5 separate regions of the Homo sapiens genome follow, and all the other regions are linked to region 2. The links are contacts of gene promoters, found by promoter capture Hi-C in human tissues and cell types (Jung and others, 2019). All regions are on one chromosome and are shown on one strand. Each heading gives the region's core, a stretch centred on a gene start or on the middle of the fragment in contact. The rest is flanking DNA. Distances are from core to core; before and after follow the strand shown.

Evidence for each region. The method cuts DNA at HindIII sites, captures the fragments that hold promoters and counts their contacts. A contact is called where the count stands out against the background at its distance.
Region 1: a contact is called between a fragment that was not itself captured here and the fragment with the promoter of CLDN5 in region 2, in 4 of the 25 tissues and cell types used here (dorsolateral prefrontal cortex, lymphoblastoid cells, spleen and 1 more).
Region 3: a contact is called between a fragment that was not itself captured here and the fragment with the promoter of CLDN5 in region 2, in 2 of the 25 tissues and cell types used here (dorsolateral prefrontal cortex and mesendoderm cells).
Region 4: a fragment that was not itself captured here is called in contact with the fragment with the promoter of CLDN5 in region 2 in 2 of the 25 tissues and cell types used here (dorsolateral prefrontal cortex and spleen).
Region 5: a fragment that was not itself captured here is called in contact with the fragment with the promoter of CLDN5 in region 2 in 4 of the 25 tissues and cell types used here (H1 embryonic stem cells, IMR-90 fibroblasts, dorsolateral prefrontal cortex and 1 more).

The regions. Positions count from the first base shown.
Region 1 is chr22:19,317,857-19,322,766 of GRCh38, reverse strand. All of the region lies in intron 1 of LOC105372859 (a long non-coding RNA gene), which reads right to left. Among named protein-coding and RNA genes, the nearest start is that of CLTCL1, 29 kb to the right of the region's middle. The HindIII fragment of the contact is 4,176 bases long and covers 978-4,910 here.
Region 2 is chr22:19,521,157-19,526,025 of GRCh38, reverse strand. CLDN5 (claudin 5) reads left to right here and starts at 1,616. Exons shown (of 1, transcript NM_001363066.2): 1 at 1,616-2,999. The coding sequence starts at 1,771. The coding sequence ends at 2,427. RefSeq lists an enhancer at 3,001-3,933. The HindIII fragment of the contact is 10,668 bases long and covers 1-1,846 here.
Region 3 is chr22:19,759,852-19,763,123 of GRCh38, reverse strand. TBX1 (T-box transcription factor 1) reads right to left here and starts at 2,346. Exons shown (of 7, transcript NM_001379200.1): 1 at 1,844-2,346. The coding sequence starts at 2,280. RefSeq lists enhancers at 1-432, 592-1,291. The HindIII fragment of the contact is 5,066 bases long and covers 1-3,272 here.
Region 4 is chr22:19,357,283-19,362,400 of GRCh38, reverse strand. It overlaps HIRA (histone cell cycle regulator), which reads left to right. Exons shown (of 25, transcript NM_003325.4): 16 at 470-674; 17 at 1,060-1,164; 18 at 2,917-3,065. Among named protein-coding and RNA genes, the nearest start is that of CLTCL1, 68 kb to the right of the region's middle. The HindIII fragment of the contact is 5,675 bases long and covers 1-5,118 here.
Region 5 is chr22:19,691,357-19,696,584 of GRCh38, reverse strand. No RefSeq gene overlaps it. Among named protein-coding and RNA genes, the nearest start is that of SEPTIN5, 21 kb to the left of the region's middle. RefSeq lists an enhancer at 4,057-4,616. The HindIII fragment of the contact is 5,757 bases long and covers 1-4,508 here.

The DNA.
Region 1 (4,910 bases), core at 1,816-4,315, 200 kb after region 2:
CAGGCTGGTCTCGAACTCCTGACCTCAGGTAATCCATCTGCCTCGGCCTCCCAAAGTGCTAGGATTATAGGCGTGAGCCACCACACCCGGCCTTGTTCATTTCATCTAAGCTACAATTGTTTATAGTATTTCTTCTTTTTTTTTTAAACCCTCATTCTCTATATATAATAGTATTTCTTTAATTTTTAATTAAAAAGTTTTTTTATAAAATTTCTTTTGAGATGGAGTCTCACTCTGTCACCCAGGCTGGAGTGCAGTGGTGCAATCTTGGCTCACTGCAAGCTCTGCCTCCTGGGTTCACGCCATTCTCCTGCCTCAGCCTCCTGAGTAGCTGGTACTACAGGTGCCCGCCACCATGCCCGGCTAATTTTTTGTATTTTTAGTAGAGATGGAGTTTCACCGTGTTAGCCAGGATGGTCTCGATCTCCTGACCTCGTGATCCACCCGCCTCGGCCTCCCAAAGTGCTGGGATTACAGACGTGAGCCACTGCACCCGGCCCACAAAGTATTTTCTAATTTCCCTCTTGATTTCTTCTTTGACCCATTGGTCATTTAGAGTGTGCTGTTAAATTTCCACACCTTTGTGGGTTTCCCAACTTCTCGACTTTCTTTCTGTTATTGATCTAATAGTATTCCGTTGTGTTTTTAAAAATACTTTGTATTATTTCTATCCTTTACATTTACTAAGGTTTGATTTACAACCTAGCATATGCTGTACCCTGGAGAATGTTCCTTGTCTACTTGAGAAGATGTGTATTCTACCTAAGTGGGGTTGTGTTGCTCACGTATGGCCACACCACTTCCCTTTCACCATTCCACTTTCTTAACCCATGCTAACCACCAATCTGTTTTCCATTTCTGTAATTTCCTGATTTCAACAATGTTATGTCAATGTCATGCTTACCTAACCTACTGGATTTTTTTTTCACTCAGAATAATTATCTGGAGTTAATTTAAGTTGTTGTGTATATTATTACTTCATTAGTTTTTATTTATTGCTAATGAGTATTTCATGGTTTTGCTGCACTGTTGATTTAACCATTCATCTGCTCAGGACATCAGGGCTAGTTTCAATTTTTGGTGATTACAGTTAAGCCCTGATATTAAATTTTTTGTGTGAACATAAGCATTTGATTTTGTGGAAGCAATTCCCAAGAGGGCAACTACTGGGTCTTATGGTAGCTGCAAGTGCAGTTTTTTTCAAGATGACAAAGTATTTTCCACAAAGCTGTACCATTTTACATTCCAACAATGGATGAGTGATCAAGTTTTTCCACATGCTCACCAGCATTTGTTGTCACTATTAATTTTAGCCATGTTGACAGGTGTAACTTTAGTTTGCATTTCCGTAATACCTAATGATGTTCAACATCTTTTCATGTGCTTATTTGCAATTCATAAATCTTCAGTGAAATATAGTAATTTTCATGTCTTTTCCCCTTTTTTTGAGACAGTCTTACTCTGTCACCCAGGCTGGAGTGCAGTGGTGTGACCACAGCTCACTGCAGCCTTACCCTCCAAGCTCAAGTGATCCTCCCAGCTCAGCCTCGTAAGTACTGGGACTACAGGCAGGCACAACCATGCCAGGCCAATTTAAATTTTTTTTTGTAGATGGGATCTCACTACACTGCCTAGGCTGGTCTCGAACCCCTGAGCTGAAATGATCCTCCTGCCTTGGCCTCCCCAAATGTTGGGATTACAGGTATGAGCCACCATGCCCAGCCTGTTATGTCTTCTCGAAGAATGGATCCCTTTGTCATAGGGATCATGCCCCCTTTGAGCATAGAGTACTTCATAATATTCCTTTACTATCTCACTTTCCACTGTGATGTAATGTGTTGCGGGAAGTCAGGGACCCTGAACGGAGGGACCGGCTAAAGCCATGGCAGAAGAACATAAATTGTGAAGATTTCATGGACATTTATTGGTTCCCCAAATTAATACTTTTGTAATTTCTTACACCTGTCTTTACTGCAGTCTCTGAACATAAATTATGAAGATTTCATGGACACTTATCACTTCCCCAGTCAATACCCTTGTGATTTCCTATGCCTGTCTTTACTTTAATCTCTTAATCCCATCATCTTTGTAAGCTGAGGATGAATGTCGCCTCAGGACCCTGTGATGATTGCGTTTTCTGCACAAATTGTTTAAACAATGTGAAATCTGGGCACCTTGAAAAAAGAACAGGATAACAGCAATGTTCAGGGAACAAGGGAGATAAGCTTAAAGTCTGGCTGCCTGTGGGCCGGGTGGAACTGAGCCATATTTCTCTTCTTTCAAAAGCAAATAGGAGAAATATCACTGAATTCTTTTTCCCAGCAAGGAGCATCCCTGAGAAAGAGAATGTATCCCTAAGGGGAGGCCTCTGAAATGGCCGCTTTGGGGACGTCTGTCTTTTATGGGCATAGATAAGGGATGAAATAAGCCCCGGTCTCCCGTAGCGCTCCCAGGCTTATTAGGATGAGGAAATTCCCGCCTAATAAATTTTGGTCAGACCAGTTGTCTTTTCTCAAACCCTGTCTCCTGATAAATGTTATCAATGACAATGCATGCCCAAAACTTCATTAGCAATTTTAATTTCGCATTGGTCCTGTGATCTCACCCTGCCTCCATTTGCCTTGTGATATTTTATTACCTTGTGAAGCACGTGATCTCTGTGACCCACACCCTATTCATACACTCCCTCCCCTTTGAAAATCACTAATAAAAACTTGCTGGTTTTGCGGCTTGGGGGGCATCACAGAACCTGCCGACATGTGATGTCTCCCCCAGACACCCAGCTTTAAAATTTCTCTTTTGTACTCTTTCCCTTTATTTCTCAGACCAGCCAACACTTAGGGAAAATAGAAAAGGACCCAGGTGAAATATCGGGGGCTGAATTTTACCCGATAGTAATGCCCCTTTTATCCATGATAAAAATATTAGCAAATCAAATCCAACATTGTATGAAAAAAATACAACATGACCAAATGGGATGTATTCCAGATATGCATACTTGTTTAATGGTTGAATATAAGTTATTGTAATCAATCACATCAATTAAGTTAAAAAAGAAAATCATGATTATATCAATACATTTAGAAGAAGCATTTGACAAATCTAACACCTATTCATGATAAAAACTCTCAGCAAACTAGGAATAGAAGGGAACTTTCTCAATTGATGAAGAACATCTACAATAATTCCACTATGTATGTATGTATGGCTAACATCATACACTACTTAATGGTGAAAAATTATATGCTTTTCCCCTAATATCAGGGAAAAGGCAAGGATGTCTCTTGTCACCACTCCTATTCAATATTGTACTAGAAGTCTTAGCTAATACAATAAGACAAAAGAAGGAAATAAAAGTATAAAAATTAGGAAGAAGGAAATAAAGTATAAAAAATTGCAGATAACATGACTATCTATGTACAAAATCCCAAAGAATCAACAAAAAACTCTGAGAACTAGTAAGTTATTATAGTTACATTGCAGGATATAAGGTTAACATACAAAAGTTGATTGCTTTTCTTTAACCAACACTGAACAATTGGAATTTGAAATTGAAAATTTAATACCTCTTACATAAACACCAAATAATCAAAATACTTAGGTATAAATCTAACAAAATACATACAAGCTTTATATGAGGGAAACTACAAAACTCTGATGAAATAAATAAAAAATCTAAATTAATAAATGGAGATAAGTTCCATGTTCATGGGTAGGAAGACTCAACATTAATGTGTTAGCGCTTACCAATTATAGATTCAATTTAATTCCAATAACGATTCCAGCAAGTTATTTTGCAGATATTGACAAGCAAATTCTAAAGTTTGTATGGAAAGTCAAAAGATGCAGAATAGCCCACTCAATATTGAAGACAAGCAGGGCCAGAGTACTCACACTACTCAACTTTGAGACTTACTATGAAGCTACAGTAATCAAGACAGTGTGACATTGGTAAAGGAACGGAGTAGAGAACCCATAAATAAACCCAAACAAATGAAATCAACTGATCTTTGATGAAGGAACAAAGGCAATTCAATAGAAAAATATTAGTCTTTTCAATAAATACTGCTCTAATAAATGCACCTGTAGTCCCTTCTACTCAGGAAGTTTTGCATTTTACACATGCAAACATAAAAAAAAGAATCTAGACAGAAATTTTTAACTGCTGCTCTGAGAACATCATTGCTAAGAGAATGAAAACCCACAGACTTGGAGAAAATATTTGCAAATAACTTTTCTGATAAAGGATTTGTATCCAATATATACGAATAACTCCCAAAATGCAAAAATAAGAAAATAAGCATTCCAGTTTAAAAATGGACAAAATATCTGAACGGAGCTCACCAAAGAAGATATACATATGGCTATAACCATATGAAAAGACGCTCTACATCATATGTCATTAGGGAATTACAAATTCAGAACACAATGAGAATTAGCTGGGCATGGTGGCATATGCCTGTAGTCCAGCTACTTAGGAGGCAGAAACAGGAGGACCTCTTGAACCCAGCAGTTTGAGGCTGCAGTGAGCCATGATCATACCACTGTACTCCAGCCTGGGCAAGAGAGTAAGAACCCATCTCTAAAATAAATACATAAATAAATAAATAACAAAAACAACAATGAGAAACCACTATACACCTATTAGATAGGCTAAAATCCAAAAACCTGACAGTATCAAATGCTGACAAGGATGTGGACATAGAAAAACAGGAATTCTCATTCATTGCTCTTGAGAATACAGCCACTTTGGAAGATGATCTAGTAGTGCCTTCCAAGCTAAACATAGCCTAACCATATGGCCCAGCAATTTCACTCCTAGGTATATACCAAAATTAGTTGAAAACTTATATACACATAAAAACCTACACATGAATGTTTATAGCAGCTTTATTCAAAACTGCAAAAAC
Region 2 (4,869 bases), core at 367-2,866:
GGAGAAGGCAGTGGTCCTCAGAGCCATACCTGGTGGGGAGAGGCCACGTGGGGCTGAGCAAAGAGGGTATGATTTCCTTCCAGCCTCAGGGCTGGGCACACTTGCCTTCAGAACCTCCCCACACTAGGTGAGCCAGACGCTGGCCTTATCTCATTTACCATCTCAGAGCCATCTGAAGGGGGAGAAGGGAACCGGGCCCCAGGAGGGAGAAAGTCATCAAACCTCCCACATCTGTGACCAGCCTCAGTGCCATACTTTTTCTATGGAGGGCCCTGTCCAATGGAACTGAGCACAGACCAGATAAAAGAACTGGGCACCCAGTGGCCTCAGTCCAGGGCCTGGAGTTCAAACTTTACTGGAAACAAAGGGGCCGAGAGAGACTGGGGAAAGAACTACTAGAAAGGGGCTGGTGCCCCCATGGGGCTGTGGGTTTTGGAGCCGCGTGCCCCCACCTGAGCCTCAGGGGGCCCGGAGTGTCCACACCAGTGGACCTTTCGAGAAATGGCTGGGCCATTGTGCAGAAGAATGCCCGGAAATCCCGCGCCTCCCTCCTCCAGCAAGGATGGGGGCTCTTCCTCCTGGCCAGGAAACTCCAAGTTGGCTTCCGGAGGGTGGCCTGGGGGCTGGGGTGCCAGGGACACCATCGCCACTGGTGGGAGGGCAGGGCACAGCCCCTCCGTGTCCCTTTGTCTCTCCTGTCTGAAGGCCAGAGCAGGCTGCTAGGCCTGGGGCCACCACTGCCCCTGGGTGCTACACCCAGTGTGCTGGGTCACTGGGAACTTCCTGAAGTGGTGTCACCTGAACTGGGCCCCCAAGGATGGGGTGCGGGCAGTACCGCAGGAAGAGGAGCAGCCCCTGTGAAGATTGAGAGGTCTGGGAAGCCCCTGCGGCTTGGGAGAGTGGGGGTCGCCAGGCAGGGGGAAAGCCCCTGTGCCACCGCTTTTTGCCAGAGACTCAGGCTCCAGAGAGGCAGTGAGTGGCATGGGGGGTGAGGCTGGGGCCCTGGGCCTGACCTCCACACGCCTGCCTGGCCTCTCTGTTTGCCATGGGATGAGAGAGACAGTGCTGGGACTCAGAGCGGGGCTGGAGAGTGAGAGTGCGAGAAAGGGCCTGGGTGGGGCTTGGACCCCGGGGCGGGCTTTCTGGAGAGCCCCCCTACGAGGGCCTCTACGGCGGTGACGGGGTGGGGGGCTTCTGCAAACCTTGGTCAGGGAAGTGGAGCTGGCTCGAGTGGAAGAGACCACCCGGCTCAGTCGGGGATGTGGGAGTGGACTGGGTGGTGCAGACTGGGGGTCGAGCGCCTTCTGAAGTGACGGGGCCGGGACGCGCAGGGAGGCGGCCCAAGAAGCGCGCCCTAGGCCAGCCCAGAATGCGCTCGGCCGCGACTAGGACAACGGCGGGTGGGGCTGGGGGCGGCTGCCGGGCGGGGAGCGGTCCCGCGCCCTCAGCTACCCCTCAAGAGCCGTTGTTTCCCTAACTTCAGCTGCCAGAGGCTCTGTGATTGGCTGCGGCACGATGACCCGCGCACGGATTGGCTGCTTCGGGCCGGGGGGCCGGGCCCGGGGGACAGAATCCGCCCCCGAACCTTCAAAGAGGGTACCCCCCGGCAGGAGCTGGCAGACCCAGGAGGTGCGACAGACCCGCGGGGCAAACGGACTGGGGCCAAGAGCCGGGAGCGCGGGCGCAAAGGCACCAGGGCCCGCCCAGGGCGCCGCGCAGCACGGCCTTGGGGGTTCTGCGGGCCTTCGGGTGCGCGTCTCGCCTCTAGCCATGGGGTCCGCAGCGTTGGAGATCCTGGGCCTGGTGCTGTGCCTGGTGGGCTGGGGGGGTCTGATCCTGGCGTGCGGGCTGCCCATGTGGCAGGTGACCGCCTTCCTGGACCACAACATCGTGACGGCGCAGACCACCTGGAAGGGGCTGTGGATGTCGTGCGTGGTGCAGAGCACCGGGCACATGCAGTGCAAAGTGTACGACTCGGTGCTGGCTCTGAGCACCGAGGTGCAGGCGGCGCGGGCGCTCACCGTGAGCGCCGTGCTGCTGGCGTTCGTTGCGCTCTTCGTGACCCTGGCGGGCGCGCAGTGCACCACCTGCGTGGCCCCGGGCCCGGCCAAGGCGCGTGTGGCCCTCACGGGAGGCGTGCTCTACCTGTTTTGCGGGCTGCTGGCGCTCGTGCCACTCTGCTGGTTCGCCAACATTGTCGTCCGCGAGTTTTACGACCCGTCTGTGCCCGTGTCGCAGAAGTACGAGCTGGGCGCAGCGCTGTACATCGGCTGGGCGGCCACCGCGCTGCTCATGGTAGGCGGCTGCCTCTTGTGCTGCGGCGCCTGGGTCTGCACCGGCCGTCCCGACCTCAGCTTCCCCGTGAAGTACTCAGCGCCGCGGCGGCCCACGGCCACCGGCGACTACGACAAGAAGAACTACGTCTGAGGGCGCTGGGCACGGCCGGGCCCCTCCTGCCAGCCACGCCTGCGAGGCGTTGGATAAGCCTGGGGAGCCCCGCATGGACCGCGGCTTCCGCCGGGTAGCGCGGCGCGCAGGCTCCTCGGAACGTCCGGCTCTGCGCCCCGACGCGGCTCCTGGATCCGCTCCTGCCTGCGCCCGCAGCTGACCTTCTCCTGCCACTAGCCCGGCCCTGCCCTTAACAGACGGAATGAAGTTTCCTTTTCTGTGCGCGGCGCTGTTTCCATAGGCAGAGCGGGTGTCAGACTGAGGATTTCGCTTCCCCTCCAAGACGCTGGGGGTCTTGGCTGCTGCCTTACTTCCCAGAGGCTCCTGCTGACTTCGGAGGGGCGGATGCAGAGCCCAGGGCCCCCACCGGAAGATGTGTACAGCTGGTCTTTACTCCATCGGCAGGGCCCGAGCCCAGGGACCAGTGACTTGGCCTGGACCTCCCGGTCTCACTCCAGCATCTCCCCAGGCAAGGCTTGTGGGCACCGGAGCTTGAGAGAGGGCGGGAGTGGGAAGGCTAAGAATCTGCTTAGTAAATGGTTTGAACTCTCTCCCACCTGTGTCCTGTTCTCTGTCCAGCCATCTTCCGTGTCCAGCAGCCCCATTCATCACCCACCAGCCCCGCCCTCCCAAGGACTCCTGTGGAGACCTCCTCCCAGGGCTGGAGGCTGGGGCTCTTTTCCCCATCCTCCCTGCCACCTTCCCACCAGGTGGGAGACACAGCCACCACTTACTACAGCCCAGAAAGGCGGGATCTGCGGTCAGAAGAGCTGCTGCGTCATGGGGCCCTGGGGCCCGGGATGGGACAGGGGCGGGGGCAGCGGCAGACCCCAGCAGAAGATGCGGGGTGAAGCGCCCTCAACACAGGCTGGTGAGTGGGGGTCCTGCGGTGTGGGAAGTGCTGGGGGTGAGCAGCCAGGCCGCTGGCTTCTCCCAGAAAGGGCCAAGCCCCACACAGCACAGGGTGAGGTTTTCCACTGCCCTCTCAGGGCTTGCCTAGTCCCAAGCCCCATCAAGTGGCCACAGAGGTCTGTAGAATCCCCGACCAGGCCCTTTCCAATGGTGGGTGGGGCAGGAACAGGGGTGAATGCAGGACACGCCGGTCAACAGTAGGGTTGCCATGGGAGGAGGTGCTGGCAGCTGGTTGCCTGGAGTACCACAGCTTGGCTCTAGCCCCTCGTCCTGGCTCCTCTGCCAGTCCCAGCGCAGCTCCCTACAGAGCCTGTACCCACCCTGCTGGCCTGGCAGCCTGCCCAGAATGGTGCTCACAACCAGCACCTGTGCCAGCCCCTGCTGGGGGCACTCTGGGTAACCTTCCTCCTCCAGGGGCTGTGTGGCCTGGGAGTCAGTGCTGGCCCCTGCCAGGCACCTCGGAATGGGGGTGTCTAGAGCCATCTAACATAGCCACTGAGAGCTCACTGTTTTTAGCCTTGTTCTAGGCACTTTGAATTAACACATTTTTGACATTTGACATAAAGCTAGAAGCAGAAGAGAGCAGCTGATGAAGGGGGCATGCTGCAGGGAAGAGCTCTAAGCCCAGCCGGAAGGGAGACTTGGTATCTGCCCCAAACTGGACTTGGGGGCCCTGCCCAGAAATGTCTGGGCCACATCCAGTGGCAGGGAGTCTCCTAGGTCTGGCCAGGCTACCATCATGGAGCAGTGGGAGAACCCCAAGAATGCAGGCTCAGAGTGGCTTAGGGCAGCTGCTGGAATGTGTGGCAGCTTCCTGGGAGCTGCTGTGGAACCAGCCGGTGGGATGAGTTACAGGGAGAGGGGCCCCACGGTGCAGAGGTCCTCAGCAGGCCTGACCTGTACCCCACCTGGGCCTGTACAACAGGGACCAAGAATAGTCCCCAAGCTTGGGAGTGTGTGATCCCAGAGCTGTGGCCCTGGGCAGAGCCAAAAACAATGGTCCTTACACTCTTGCACCTGGCCACCGGGACTGGGTAGTACCAGGTCTGGTGTGTTTGGTCAGAAGCTGAGGCCCAAGGCTGCCTGGGAGGGCATTCCTAAGAAAGCCTTTTCCTAAGAAAGGACAGGCACGGGGCTGGGCACGGTGGCTCACGCCTGTAATCCCAGCACTTTGGAAGGCCGACGTGGGCGGATCACAGGGTCAGGACATCAAGACCATTCTGGCCAACGTGGTGACACCCGTCTGTACTAAAAATACAAAAATTAGCTGGGCGTGGTGGTGTGTGCCTGTAATCCCAGCTACTCGGGAGGCTGAGACAGGAGAACCACTTGAACTCGGGAGGCAGAGGTTGCAGTGTGCCGAGATCGCACCAACTGCACTCTAGTCTGGTGACAGAGCGAGACTCTGTCTCAAAAAAAGGAAAGAAAGGGCATGGAAAGGAAGCTGCACAGCCTTTGAATTTTCCCAAATGGCCAGGGTAGGCAGCTCAAGGGTCCCGGGAAGCTGTG
Region 3 (3,272 bases), core at 773-3,272, 240 kb before region 2:
TCGTCCCAGCCCTTGGGCTCCATCTTTCCTGGCTTAGCTGCTCTAATCTGGGCAGGCCCCTACTCAACTGGGAGCTTGGCGCAGCAGGGGAGCCTCCTGGGCCGTTCCTGGACACAGAAATGGCCAGCCCAGCGCTGGAGCCCCCACCTTCGGCAACCTTGGCCTACATAAACTCGGCCTCGCCCTTGCTGACTTTTTGGCCTCTTGGTCCCAGCTTCGGCCGGCAGCAGGGTGCCTAACGTGCGCCCTTAGCAGAGCCTCCCCAGCTTGATCGAAGCAGCTCCCGGCTCCAACAAAGTGAAACCGGGTAGTCCTGTGTGAGTTCAAGGCGTCCCCGCTGCCCTTTTAGCTGGGTCTTCGGCTGTTACCCAATCCCCTCAGTGAGGCCAAGGCTCAGAGCCCTCCCTCCCCTGACTCTCAGGGCCCCTCTCTATCATGGCCCCATGATAAGAGTCTCCCCACCTTCCTCAGGGCACAGGGCAAGCTTCCACTCCCCTTAAGACACATAACCCCAAGACGCAGCTACCCAGAGTGTACTCAGTTTGTGTCTTTCCTGTTCCTCAAATCTCCCCCGCTTTGGACCCTGGCTCAGTGACCAGTCAGGGCTCTTGAAAGGACATTCTGCAGTGCCTGGACGGGTGTAGGCCATGGGCTACCCCCACATGATGGCACAGCAGTAGTGGCCGTGGGGCCCTTCAGGACAACACAAGGATTGGCCCTCACTTGCCGTCCCCTCTGCCTCCCCTCACAAGCAACTCCCTGCAGGCGGTGGGCAGAAGACAGATGCCAGGAGCCAGCCTCTAGGACAGGCCCGCTCCCTCCCCCACCCGAAGCCTCTGCAGGCTGGAGGGTGCTGCGGGACGTGGGCTCCCGGGTGAAGCCCAGCGCCGACAAGGCCCTTGCCGGGCTGGCCTGAGCCAGCGGCTGGGCTGCCGCTGTCCTCAGGAGGGCCTGTGTGCCTGGGGACAGCAAGGAGGGCCTGGAAAAAAACCACAGAGCTGGAGCAGAGCACAGGCCCAGGTTCCTCAGAAAGGACGCCGGCAGCAGGGAAACAGAAACCACGAGAAGGCTTTGCAAACAGGCCCTGAGCTCCCCTTGGCTGTTCGGACTCCGAGCTGGTGTGTACATTAGACACAGCGCGGCACCCGCCTTTGTCTACCGGTCAAATCGGGTGCATCTGCAAAACTTGTTCCCCTTGTCTCTTGGTCTTTAAAACAAATACAGGCCGGTTGGGAGGTGACGGGCCGCTGGATACAGAGCCAGGCCCCACAACTATAGGGATCTAGGTTGAAGGAAACTGGGTAGCAACTTCCACGCAACAGTGCACGCTGTTTTTAAGGGTAATCCTCTCCTGAAAGTGTCCAGAGAGTTGCCCGGCTGCCGCTCTTTATCTTGCCCGCATAGACTGAACTCCAGAACTGAACCAGAGTTTTCTTGAGGTGGGATTTACTAGGAGTCGGCCGGGCGGTGAGGCCCCCTGGACGCCGCTGCCTGCCCCCAGCCGGGTGCGCCCCAAGCCGGGCCGGTTTCTGGGCCGCGCGGCGTCCTGGGGCTGCGGGGCGGGCGGGCGAGTCCCGCGGGGCTCCTCGCCGTTCCCGTGCGGCCCGCGCCGTCTCCTCCCGCCCCGGCGGAGGATAGGTGTTAGGAGGGGAGCGCCGGGCGGCTGTCGCCGGAGCCGGGACGGCGAACAGCGAAGGAGGCAGCGGGGCCCAGAGGGGCCCGCAGGTGGCCAGGCCGCGCCCCCGACCCGGCTTTCGGCCCCGCTCGCGCGGATCAGGCGGAGGCCCGCAGCCCTGGCGGCAGCACGTGGGGAGGGTCGCGGCGTGGGGAGGGGCGCCCTGACCTGCCGGCCTTGGTGACGATCATCTCGGTGCCCAGCTGGTTGAACTCGTCCCACAGCGCCTTCATCTCTAGCTGCACGCTCACACCGGCCACCTTCGCGTTCTTCTTCACCGGCGCCTTGGCTGCGGCCGCGCAGCTGGCCCCGGGGCCCTCGGGCTCGGCGGCGGCGCTGGTGGCGGCCCCGGCGGCCGGCGCAAACGGGTAGGCGTGCGGCGGCGGCGGCGGGCCCGGGGCGCCGGGGGCGGCGGCGGCGCACGGGTCGTAGCGCGGCGGCGGCGGCGGGGGCTCGCGCGGGCCGTACGGGTCGGCGCCGGGCGACGCGGCGCCCGGGAAGCCCCCCGCGGCCCCCAGGCTGCTCAGGCTGCTGGCCGTGAAGGCTGCAACGTCGCAGAAATGCGAGAGCTGCGTGAGCCACGGGCTGGACACGGCGGAGATCATGACCCGCGGGCCGCCGCCGCCGCCCCCGCCACCAAGCTGAGCGCTGCCCCGCGCCGCGGGCCGAGTGGCGGGCGCCGCGCTGCGTGCGCCCCGGGCCGTGCAGCCCCACACCGCAGGCCGGCCCCGAGGAGGCGCCCCGCCCCGCCCCGCCCGGGGCCCCCCCACCCCCGCGCGGAGACAATGGACTAGATCCCTCCCCCGGCCCTCGCCCCTCCCCCGCCCCTTCCCCCTCCCCGGCCCCCAGCCCGCCCGCCGCGGCTCGCTCGGCCCGGGGCCCCCCGACCGCCCGGACCGGCTCACCGGTGCGCCGGGCCCGTCGGCCGGCCCTCGCTCTGCCGCCCGCCCGCGTGCGTTTCTCCTCTCTCTCTCCCAGACGTTCTTTTCCTAATTTGTTATTTTACCTTTGTCGTCCTCATTTAAATTTTCCCTCCCGATCATCTTTTTTCTTCCCCTATCTCTGTAGTTTCTCTTTATTTCTGTTTTACTTTCCGCCTCTTCCCCTTTTCCTCCATCCTCGCCTTCCTTTTCACTTTATTTTTAATCATTCTTTGTCTTTCTTTTAGTCGGTGCCTTTCCTCTTATTTTTGTATGTCCTTTGTTTTTTATGTTTTTCTTTTTAAAAAAAAAAAAACTAAAGTCTTTCCTTTTTTTCTTTTTTATGACTTCGCTTTCTGTCTTAAATTTTCCCTTCGTTTTCTCTCTTCTCTTTCGCTCTTGCTTTTTATTGCCTTTTCGTGTCCTTCTGTTTCTCCCCTACCTTCTTCTTTGGGTTTTTTGTGTTTTCTCCCCTTTGCTCAATTTCGTCTCCACGGCTTCCTCGAGGCTTTCTCTCCTTCTGTGAAACTCTCCCGCTCTCTCCTCTCTTATTAACTTTCCTCCCCCCTCTCCAGGCTCACGGCCACCTCTGCTCTCCTTCCCAGCCTCACTCGCCCTCTTCCGGGCCTGTGTATACCTGAGTGCCCATCTCCAAGCTGGGCCCCCAGGCTGGTGAG
Region 4 (5,118 bases), core at 1,191-3,690, 160 kb after region 2:
CTTTCCTTCCATGCCCTATGACATTGGTACCACTTATTTCACTCATTCATAAACTATAGTAATTCAAGACATGGTGGCTGTTATTTGTTTGAACAGAAAGTTGTCTCTCAGATCAGTTGGGAATATGAAATACAAAAGATTCTATTTTATGTTCATTGTTTTTTTTCTCTAACATCACTCTTCCTTTCTTCATGCAGATGTGAGTTTCTGGCCTGCATCATTTATCTTCTCTCTGAAAGACTTTTAACATTTCTTGCAAGGCAGGTCTTCTGGCAACAGATTCCGGTGTCTCTTTGTTTATTTTTGTCTGACAAAGTCATTATTTCTCCTTTACTTTTGAGGCATAATTTCACTGGACACAGAATTCTAGGTTGGCAAGAGGTTTGTTTAAGCACTTTAAATATTTCACTTCACTCTTTCTTGCATGAATGGTTTCTGAAGGGAAGTGTGATGTAATGTTTTTGTGCAGGTTAAAAGAGCAGAACCTTGTGAAAGAGCTGAGGCCCCGAGACCTCCTGGAGAGCAGCAGTGACAGCGATGAGAAAGTCCCTTTGGCTAAGGCTTCCTCACTGTCCAAGCGAAAACTTGAGCTTGAGGTAGAGACAGTAGAGAAGAAGAAGAAAGGGCGGCCTCGGAAGGACTCTCGTCTCATGCCTGTGTCTCTGTCTGTCCAGGTGAGGCCAGTGGGCCCATCCTGCCTTCTTTAGCCCACCTTTCTGTACTTAGAGCTTGAAGGCCCTGTGTGCATGGTAAGCCTCAGCTGGGTGGGTCACCTTGGGAACCAGCTGGCTTAGACATGCAGCCCCTGGAATGTAGCATGGAGGCCACGCTCTCCCTCAGATGTGCCCTTGACTCACCCAGGGCCCTTGAGCAGGTTCCCTGGCATCAACTGGCTTGTCCATGAGGTTAGGATCCTTGTAGCATTCCCCTCTGCTTCCTCCCTCCCAGGGTGGAAATGCTCTGGTCGCAGGCTCAGCCTCACTTCTGGGTGACCTGCCTTTACCAAATGCTACCCCGTAGTGTTAGAGCAAGGCTCAGGAACGTTTCTGGCTCTTCCAGTCTCCAGCTGCCCTAACCGCAGAGAAGGAGGCCATGTGTCTGTCTGCACCAGCACTTGCACTGAAGCTGCCAATTCCAAGCCCCCAGAGAGCATTCACCCTCCAGGTAAGTTCTAGGACCCTGCCAGTTCTCCCTCAGGCACACCCAGACATTCTCTGTCCCCTACTGCATACAAATCCTATCTTGTCACTTCCTTGGAGATTGGTTTCCAGTGGCTCTCCATCACCTTCTGGGAGAAGTCATAGCAGATCGGGGTACCCACCAACTCTTAGCGAAATTGCCAGCCTCCACTCTCACTCACCCATAGCCTCTGTCTGGCTTTGCCCTTGGGATTCCAGCTGCTGGGGCTGCCATTACCACCACATGTTCTGGTGCTCTTCAGGACTCCTCTCAGGTGTCCTGGCTGGAAGCCACCTCCACCTCCACACACAGCCCTGGGCAGCCTCAGGCTTGGTGTCTGTGGGAATGTGTGGTCATAATCTATCTCCCAACCATCCTGCTAGCTTTGTCTTCTCAGTGTCTGGCACAGTCAATCATCAGAGTTGTTTGAGCTCTTGGAATGGAAGCTTGTAAGCATGTGGTTATCCAAAACACAATTCTGGAGTAAATAATCCTTTATACCCAGAGCCCTCCTGGTCACTTGGCCCAGCATAGTATCTAGGCCTCTCCTGCCATGGTGCCGTCACACACACTGCTGCCTCTCTGCATACCCTTGTACCTCAGCTCAGGTGCGTGTCCTCGAGCAGCCTTCTTGGACCCTGCTTGCGGGTCACTTCCCACTGGCTACACACTGCTCTGAGCCCAGGTTGGTCCTCACAGGGCACCAGAGAGCAGGCGTCAGCCCTTCCTACCATAGGTCCTTCTGGGCCACAGTGCAGAGGAATGAAGCAGGGAAGCCAAAGGGTAGGAACCCATAGGGTTTGTTCTTATTGCTGGTGTGAACGGAGGCAGGGGCCCTCCAGTGGTCAGCAGCGTTCAGACGTGCTCTTGCACTCAGAGGTGTTCTGACTTAGGTTCCCTCCTGGGTGCCCTGCTTCTCAGCACAGAACTCTCCCAAACTCCTCCAGCCCTTCCCCTAGGCATCTTGCCCTCCAAGCACTGCTTGGGACTGTCATTTCTGGGTCTGTGAAGGGGGCAGTCAGCCCTCGGCCCAGCTCACCCACTTGAGTGGCCACACAAGCACAGACTGTTTGGTGGTTCTGCCTATTTTACCACAGGGAAAATCTGTTGGTCAGCTCCCCACACACGCGTGTGGCTGAGCCCATTTGGTGCCAGACACTGAATTAGGTGCTTTTCATACATGCTGTGCCATAAACACCCCTGCCAGTTTAGTCTCAGTTGAGCAGACCAAGTCTCACCACCACAGGAACTGGAGAGCCCCTTTGGGGGTTTTCTAAACATTCCCTCCAAGCACTGACATGGTCTCTAATCTTGCCAAACACTGCCATCTTTGAAGATTCTTCAAGTAGGAGGCTAGAAACCCAAGTCTCACTCCCAGCTCGGTCCTTTGCAGTGTGCTTTTGGGCACGTTACTCCCTTGTGAGATGAAGTGGCAGGGTTGGGAGACTTTGGGGTCTTTAACCCTGGCACTGCTTCTCTTCTCTGGCTGTTCAACTACACAAATGACAGGGTAGAAACCAGCTCCCAGCATTCTCCCTGCCTTGGGGGCCACATGTCTGGCCCTCTGGGCCTCCCGCTCAGCCCCTTTGCCCTACCTGCCCTCCCTCTCCTCTCTTGGCCAGCCAGTCTGCCTCTGTATCCTGCTGCTGCCTTGGGGCCCCAGGCTACAGAGCCTTGGAGCATGTCACCTGGGCTGCGGCCCTTGTCTGAGCAGACCCGTGTGTTTACTTCATCCAGGTCAGCTCCGATCCTTCCATGTACATTGAGGTGGAGAATGAAGTGACAGTGGTGGGGGGCGTGAAGCTGAGCCGCCTGAAGTGCAACCGGGAAGGGAAGGAGTGGGAGACGGTACTCACCAGCCGGATCCTCACTGCTGCGGGCAGCTGGTAAGGGTGGGCAGGTCCTTAGCCGGCCCAGGTGACACAGGCACACATGCCATCATTCTGGGCCTGGGCCTGTCTAGGGGAGGTGCATGACCCTGGGAGCACCAGCTCCCACAGAGACTCACACCAGGCTTCACTCCAGGCCAAGCATATGTGCTTGTCATCTCAGTCCCTGCAGCACCCAGCAAGGTCAGCATCAGTATCCCCGTGTTACAGATGGGGAAACTGAGCCCTTGAGGGTTACCCAGGCCAAGCTTTGAACCTGATGGCCTGATTCCCTTGTCCAGCCAGATCCCCAAAGTCTCGAATTCCACACTGAGGTGTGCCTGGCTCACCTTGACCTGGGCTGGTTCCTTTTTTGGATCCCAGATTTCCATCCAAGTTGGTCAGGATGGATTTCTGACTGTCCCTGAAGTCCCCATCCCAGCCCATGCCAGATTCTGCACTGTGAGGGGGACCTTGATTCAGTGATTAGTCACCCAGTATCTTCCCCTGGGTTCCTAGAACTGTACGTGAGCCCTGTCCCTACCTGTGTTCAATGTGGAAGGGGAACCAATGTTTCTCCTCAGGTTCCTGTCTGATGTAGCATCCCAGTCAGGACCAGATACAGTCATCATAATTACACCCTTAATCATCTGCCATGAGGTCCCATGTAAATGCTTTTACTTGTGTCAAAGCACATGGCCTTAGGTCTTAGACCACAATTCTCGTGGGCCCTGAGTGAGTTTTGTGTTTTTAGGCCTAGGGGACCCCACTGTTTGTTCTGTTCCTCCCTCAAATTCCCCCTCCAGATGAGCCATTTAAATTCCCAGTCCCAGGCACCTGTGTATCAGATGCTTCCACAGGCTCCCACTCTCTGTCCCTCCCCTCAAGGCAGGTGGCTTGCCCAGCTGAGGGCTAAGGGGTGTCGGCACAGCCTCTCCCACAGTGACATGGCAGCTGTGGGGCAAGCCTGCTGGACCACGTGGGACCTCTCCTCCTGCTTAGTCCTGCCCAGTTCAGGCCCAGCCTGCAGACCTGTTCCCCAGTGTTACAGCCCAAAAATGATGGCTTTCTTTGCAGTGGGCTGGCTTGAGCCAGGCTCTGACCACCAGAGATGGGCAGATAGAATTCAGTCACAGTACCAGCCTGGCCAACATATTGAAACCCCATCTCTACCAAAAATACAAAAATTAGCCAGGCGTGGTAGCATGTGCCTGTAATCCCAGCTACTCGGGAGGCTAAGGTAGGAGAATCGCTTGAACTGGGGAGGCGGAGGTTGCAGTGAGCCGAGATCACGCCACTACACTCCAGCCTGGGCGACAGACCGAGACTCTGTCTCAGAAAAAATAAGAATTCAGTCACAGCACTGCAGAGAGCTCCTTGTTGCCCGTGCTGCTTAGAGTGTTCTCTGATTCATACTCTCCAAGTAAACATTTGTAAACAAAAGCATCTCACTTGCCTCTCCCTTTTTGGAGCCAGTAGCAATAGTGGCTCATTAGGAAGGCAGTTGGCAGAGCTCCTTCCTTAACTGACCTCCTTGAGCCTGCTGGAGTGACTGGCTCACCAGGATAGAAGTGACACAAAGCAGGGCTCTGGGTGGCCTACTGTGGCCAGGATCTCACTGTACTGGCTGTACATCTGCTACCCCTGCCTGCGTCTGAGCTCCAGCCTCACCCTGGGCCTGTGGCTGTGCCTTAGGGGGCTCTGTCTGGGAAGGCAGCAGCCTGCTCGTGCAGGGCCCACCCAGGGGCCTGGTGGTCACTCGGGAGAAGCTGGACAGTGTCCAGACTGTTCTGTAACGCACTCCTTGTTTGGGAGCGACACACATCTCCCACGCCAGCCAGACAGCCCCCTGGACACAGAGGTGCATGCTGTCATCCCCATACTTCTCTTAGCCTGCCTTGTTAGAGACCTTCTCAGGACTGGTCTGACTAGTTGCAGCCAGGAGACTGTCCTGTGGGTACTATGTGGCCTTATCTGATGAGCAAGGCATGTTTCCTGGGTGATCATCAGAGGCATTGGCTCTCCAAAGCCCCCACACCCCTTGGTCAGCATCAGCATGAGCTCAGGAAAG
Region 5 (5,228 bases), core at 381-2,880, 170 kb before region 2:
AAACAATTTTAGTGAATCTTTTATCTCTCTGTCACAGACTGGATAATGTATATTTGTCTGTCTCTGGACAGCAGAGTGGGCAGTGGGAGGACTCCCCAAAGGCACAGCAGAGGCCTGGGGCCAGGGCACTGACAGTGGAGAGGGGATGGGGGCCATCCCTGTGTACAGTCACACCTGGTCACAGCTGTGTGGCACCAGATGTGGTGCGGGAGGTGGGGGAGGCATCGGCGTGACCAGCTGGATGATGGGCAGGGCCATCGGTTGTCTCTGTGACAGCCTCTGAGACACGGGCGCAGGGGTCTGGTGGGGGCTGTGTAGGTGAGGCTAGAGCCCACTGGGGAAGTGTTCCTGGGGGGCTGGGGGCTGCGGGGGGTGTGGGGGAGGAGATTCCCGAACAGAGCAGGGAAGCCAGGCCGGTGGTGTGTGCTGCTGGGGAGCTGCTGAGGCTCCTTCCCGCCCTGCTGCCCTGTATCCTGACTGGGAAACAGAGCCCCGCACAAACAAGGCTGTTTGGGTTGGCTGGGGTTCGCTGGGAGGATTGCAGTGCTGAATGGAGCCATCTCAGGCTCCAGGAGAGGCGCTGAGTGAGAGAGCACATTCCGTGGTGACTGTAGGCCTGGCGCTGTCCCGCCCAGTTTGGGGAGCAGGCTCTGTGTTGTGCTTGGCCAGCTCACTCCAAAGGAGCAGTGCCTCGTGGGGGCAGCAGCGAGTCTCCAACGGCCGGGGCGTGTTTCCTGTGCAGACGACCCCTCCTCGCTGAAACTCATGATCCAAGGAGATACCTAAGAAAGCAACTCCTGGCCGGGCGCGGTGGCTCACGCCTGTAATCCCAGCACTTTGGGAGGCCGAGGCGGGTGGATCACGAGGTCAGGCGATGGAGACCATCCTGGCCAACACGGTGAAACCCCGTCTCTACTAAAAATACAAAAAATCAGCCGGGCGTGGTGGCGGGCAACTGTAGTCCCAGCTACTCGGGAGGCTGAGGCAGGAGAATCGCGTGAACCCGGGAGGCGGAGCTTGCAGTGAGCCGAGATGGAGCCACTGCACTACAGCCTGGGTGACAGAGCGAGACTCCGTCTCAAAAAAAAAAAAAAAAAAAAAAGAAAGCAACTCCTGACAGAGGGCAAGCGGCTGGGACCCTGGCCCAAGGTGGCTGCACTGCCCTCGGCAAACTACCCAGTGCCTTGGGTCCAATCGGGGGTGGGGAGACGCTCTGGGGACCTCCCTCGCCTCTCCTTGCCTGGCCACCTCCTGGCAATATTTCCCGCCTCTTCTGCACTGCTCGCTGACCTTTGCTGGTGTCAGGCCTTTGTTCAGGCTTGTCCCCACTTTTTAGCACGGTTTAAGCAAAGTTTAGAGGAAATTTTTCTAAATTTCGGTAAAAATTTGAAAAACATTAAAAAATTTCTCAAAGTTATTTTAGCAAATGTGCTTTTGTCTGGAGGCCGGCTCCTCCTGGCTGTGCTCTGAGCCTGCTGGCATCCCCGACAGGGCCTGCTGCCCCAGCACTGCTGCTTGACCAGTGGCTCTCCTGCACATTTCATTTTTCACTTACACATTAGGCTCTCCCTCAAGGGAATCAGCCCAAGAGCAGGGCCCTGCGGGCCTTGTCCACACTGCTTCCCCGAGGCGCATAGAAATGACTTCTCCCCACCCTGCGCAGTGACTCGTAATCCCAGATCGCTTGTGCTCAGGAGTTTGAGACCAGCCTGGGCAACACGGCGAAACCCCGTCTCTACCAAAACAAACAAACAAACAGCTAGGTGTGGTGGCGCATGCCTGTGGTTCCAGCTTCAGGAGGCTGAGGTGGGAGCATCACTTGAGCCTGGGAGGCAGAAGTTGCAGTGAGCTGAGATCGCGCCACGGCACTCCAGCCTGGGTGTCAGAGTGAGACCCCATCTTGAAAAAAAAAAAAAGAAAAGAAAGAAATGACTTCTCCCGTGCAAAACTGATCCAAGGGTCTCTCATGATTTTTGTTGTTCATTTGCTTTAGTGTAGGCAGTGTGAAGACCTCACCTGGGTGTGCCACCAATGGAGGCTGCAGGCCCCGGCTCCAGTGAAGGCTGGTGCTGCTGCTGCCCTGTCCAGGACGGCTCTGCATCTTCCTCCCAGAAGCCCAGACTCCCCTGTGGGCTGCCCACCTGGCTGCAGCTCCTGAATGTCTGGTAGGCATCACACCCTTCATGGATGCACCTGCAAAGAAACTGCACTGTGCTTGCCCGGGGGTCCCCCGTCTGACTGGTGACTGCACCATTTGCTCAAATAAAATCCTCAGGGTCACCTACTTGTCCTGCATTGGATCCATCAGCAAGTCCTGCCGATTCTATCCCTAGATGCATTCAAAATGTTCTCGCCTGGCTTCATCACCACCTGTGTCTGTGTCCTGAGGCACTGCAGACCGGTGGCTTAACCACAGGCATTTATTGTCTTGTCTCGGAGGCTGGGAGTCCAAGATCAAGGTGTGGGCAGGGCTGGTTCCGATTGAGGCCTCTCTCCTTGCCTTGCGGGTGGCACCTTCTCCCTGAGTCCTCCCGGAGTTGTCCCTCTGTACATGTCTGTGTCCCAATTTCTTCTTAGAAGGACACCAGTCATATGGGATCAGGACCTACCCCCTCATGAATTTATTTTAACTTAACTACCTCCTTAAGGACCCTACCTCCAAATACACATTCGGAGGTCCTGGGGGTGAGGGCTTTGGTGTGGAGTTTTGGAAGGGAGAACATAAATCAGTGCATAACAACACCCATGCCACCCTCATCCCTGCTGCCTCCGCTCAGGCCTTCCATCTGGGGCCACACTCGTCCTCACGTAGCAGTGCCGACTGTTCAGGTCGCCACTCCACCTGAGCCATGCGCACAAGACCCACGTAAGGAGACCTAAGGCCTGGAACTTAGACTCTTGGGACGCCTGCCCGGGACGAGGTCAGCAGGCCCCTCACTCTCCTAGACACAGGGGCCTGCGCACTGCCCGGAGTCTCCCAGTCCTTCTCTGTGCCAGCACGGATTGGTATTTTATTTTAAATGACAGCTTTATTGACACAATTCAAAGACCATACAATCACCCACTCAAAGTGTACCAGTCAGAAGTTGTTGGCATATTCAGAGTTGTGTATCCATCACCACTGGGTAACTCTAGAACATTTTAAACTGAGACGTCATTCACACACCATAAAATCCCGACACGTGCCCCAACACCGATGAACCTTGAGGACGTTATGCTAAGAGACGCCAGCGACGAAAGGGCAGATACCATGTGGTTCCACGTATGTGAGGTGCATAGAGTAGTGAGGTTCATAGGCACGGACAGTAGAATAGGGGTTGCCAGGGGTTGGGGGCAGGGGATGAGGGGGGCTGCTGTTTAATGGGGGCAGGTTTTAGTTTTGCAAGATGCATAAAGTTCTGAAGATGGATGGTGGTGACGATTATACAACACTGTGAATGTATGTAATACCACTGAACTGTGCACTTAAAAATGGTCTGGGTGCTGTGGCTCACACCTGTAATCCCAACACTTTGGGAGGGCGAGGAGGGCAGATCACCTGAGGTCAAGAGTTTGAGACCAGCCTAGCCAACATGGTGAAATCCTGTCTCTACAGAAATACAAAAATTAGGCCGGGCACAGTGGCTCATGCCTTTAATCCCAGCACTTTGGGAGGCCGAGGCAGGCTGATCACGAGGTCAGGAGATCGAGACCATCCTGGCTAACACGGTGAAACCCTGTCTCTACTAAAAATACAAAAAATTAGCCGGTGTGGTGGCGGGCACCTGTAGTCGCAGCTATTCGGGAGGCTGAGGCAGGAGAATGGCGTGAACCTGGGAGGCGGAGCTTGCAGTGAGCTGAGATTGCACCACTGCACTCCAGCCTGGGTGACAGAGCAAGACTCCGTCTCAAAAGAAAAAAAAATTATCCAGGCATGGTGGCAGGCGCCTGTAATCCCAACTACTCGGGAGGCTGAGGCAGGAGAATCCCTTGAACCCAGGATCAGGCTGTGGAGGTTGCAGTGAGCCGAGATCACACCACTGCACTCCAGCCTGGGAGATAGAGCAAGACTCCATCTCAAAAAAAAAAAAAAGACTCAAATGGTAAATATATGTCATGTATATTTAACTACAATTTTTTAAAAAAGTAAATAATTAAAAATCAATCAAATGAAAAGTTGCAGGCCAATGGGCCTAGAGTGCTGCCGGGTGTATTAATATGTCGGCAAAAGAAAAAAATGCTCATGCATCCATGCATCCATGTGCCTGTACTTGTACACACCACCCTGGAAGGATACCAAAGAGCTGCCCCGTGAGCCGGTGACAAGGATGGCATTCCTTAGGTGGGTGGGAGCCCCAGGCAGGAATCTCCACAAGTGAGTCCTTTCATGCTCCTGGAACTTGGAATCTTGGGACTCTGTTACCTATTAGAAAAAGTTAAAAAATTAGTTGCCAAAGGAGGCCAAGCTGAGGGAAAAGAGCTAAAGCTTCCAGCAGCGATGGTGGCCCCACCCCACCAGGCCCCACCTTGGGCGGGGGCTCCCGGGAAGAAGCCAGCCTGTCCGGTGAAAGCTTGAAGCTCCTGTTCTGTAAGGAGCTGAGTAATGGTGACATACCAAGGCAGGTCAGCAGGGAAGAAGGCGACTTTGTTTATTCCTTCCCTCCTAACCTCACACATCTTCCGCTCAGAGGTCCAGCAGTGTGCGGTCGGCCCCGTCCCAGTGGCTAGACTGAACGATCTGCTGAGACCACGGAATTCTGAGCAGAAGGCGTTCCCAACAGCCACGCTCACACCCAGAGCACAAGCTCCCGGCCAAAAGCCGCCTCCCTCGGCTGCACAGGAATCTTAACATGCGGGATTATCCACTGAGGAAAGAGTGGAATGGAACAAACAGAAAAAGTGAAGGTTCCTGTAAAGGCGATTAAAATCGACTTAGTTGGCAGCCGAATGTTAACACTGCTGCAAAGCCTTAAAAAGAAAGCCAGCCATTTTATGCAGAATTTACATCCCAGCAGCCCAAGAAATGAGGCTCTTACCTAATTAAGGAGCAGTAACAAGGCATATTACTTGCTTCTGTTTTTATTTTTACCTTTCGGATAATTTCCAAATAAATTATTACCAAGCTGTTTTGAGGTTTGAGAATAAGAAGAAAATCTGATATTCAAAATAAGGAGTCGTTTCATGGTCTCTGACTGATAAACAGACATCCATTAGCAAAATGAGAGAGACACATTTTCCTAGATCAAATT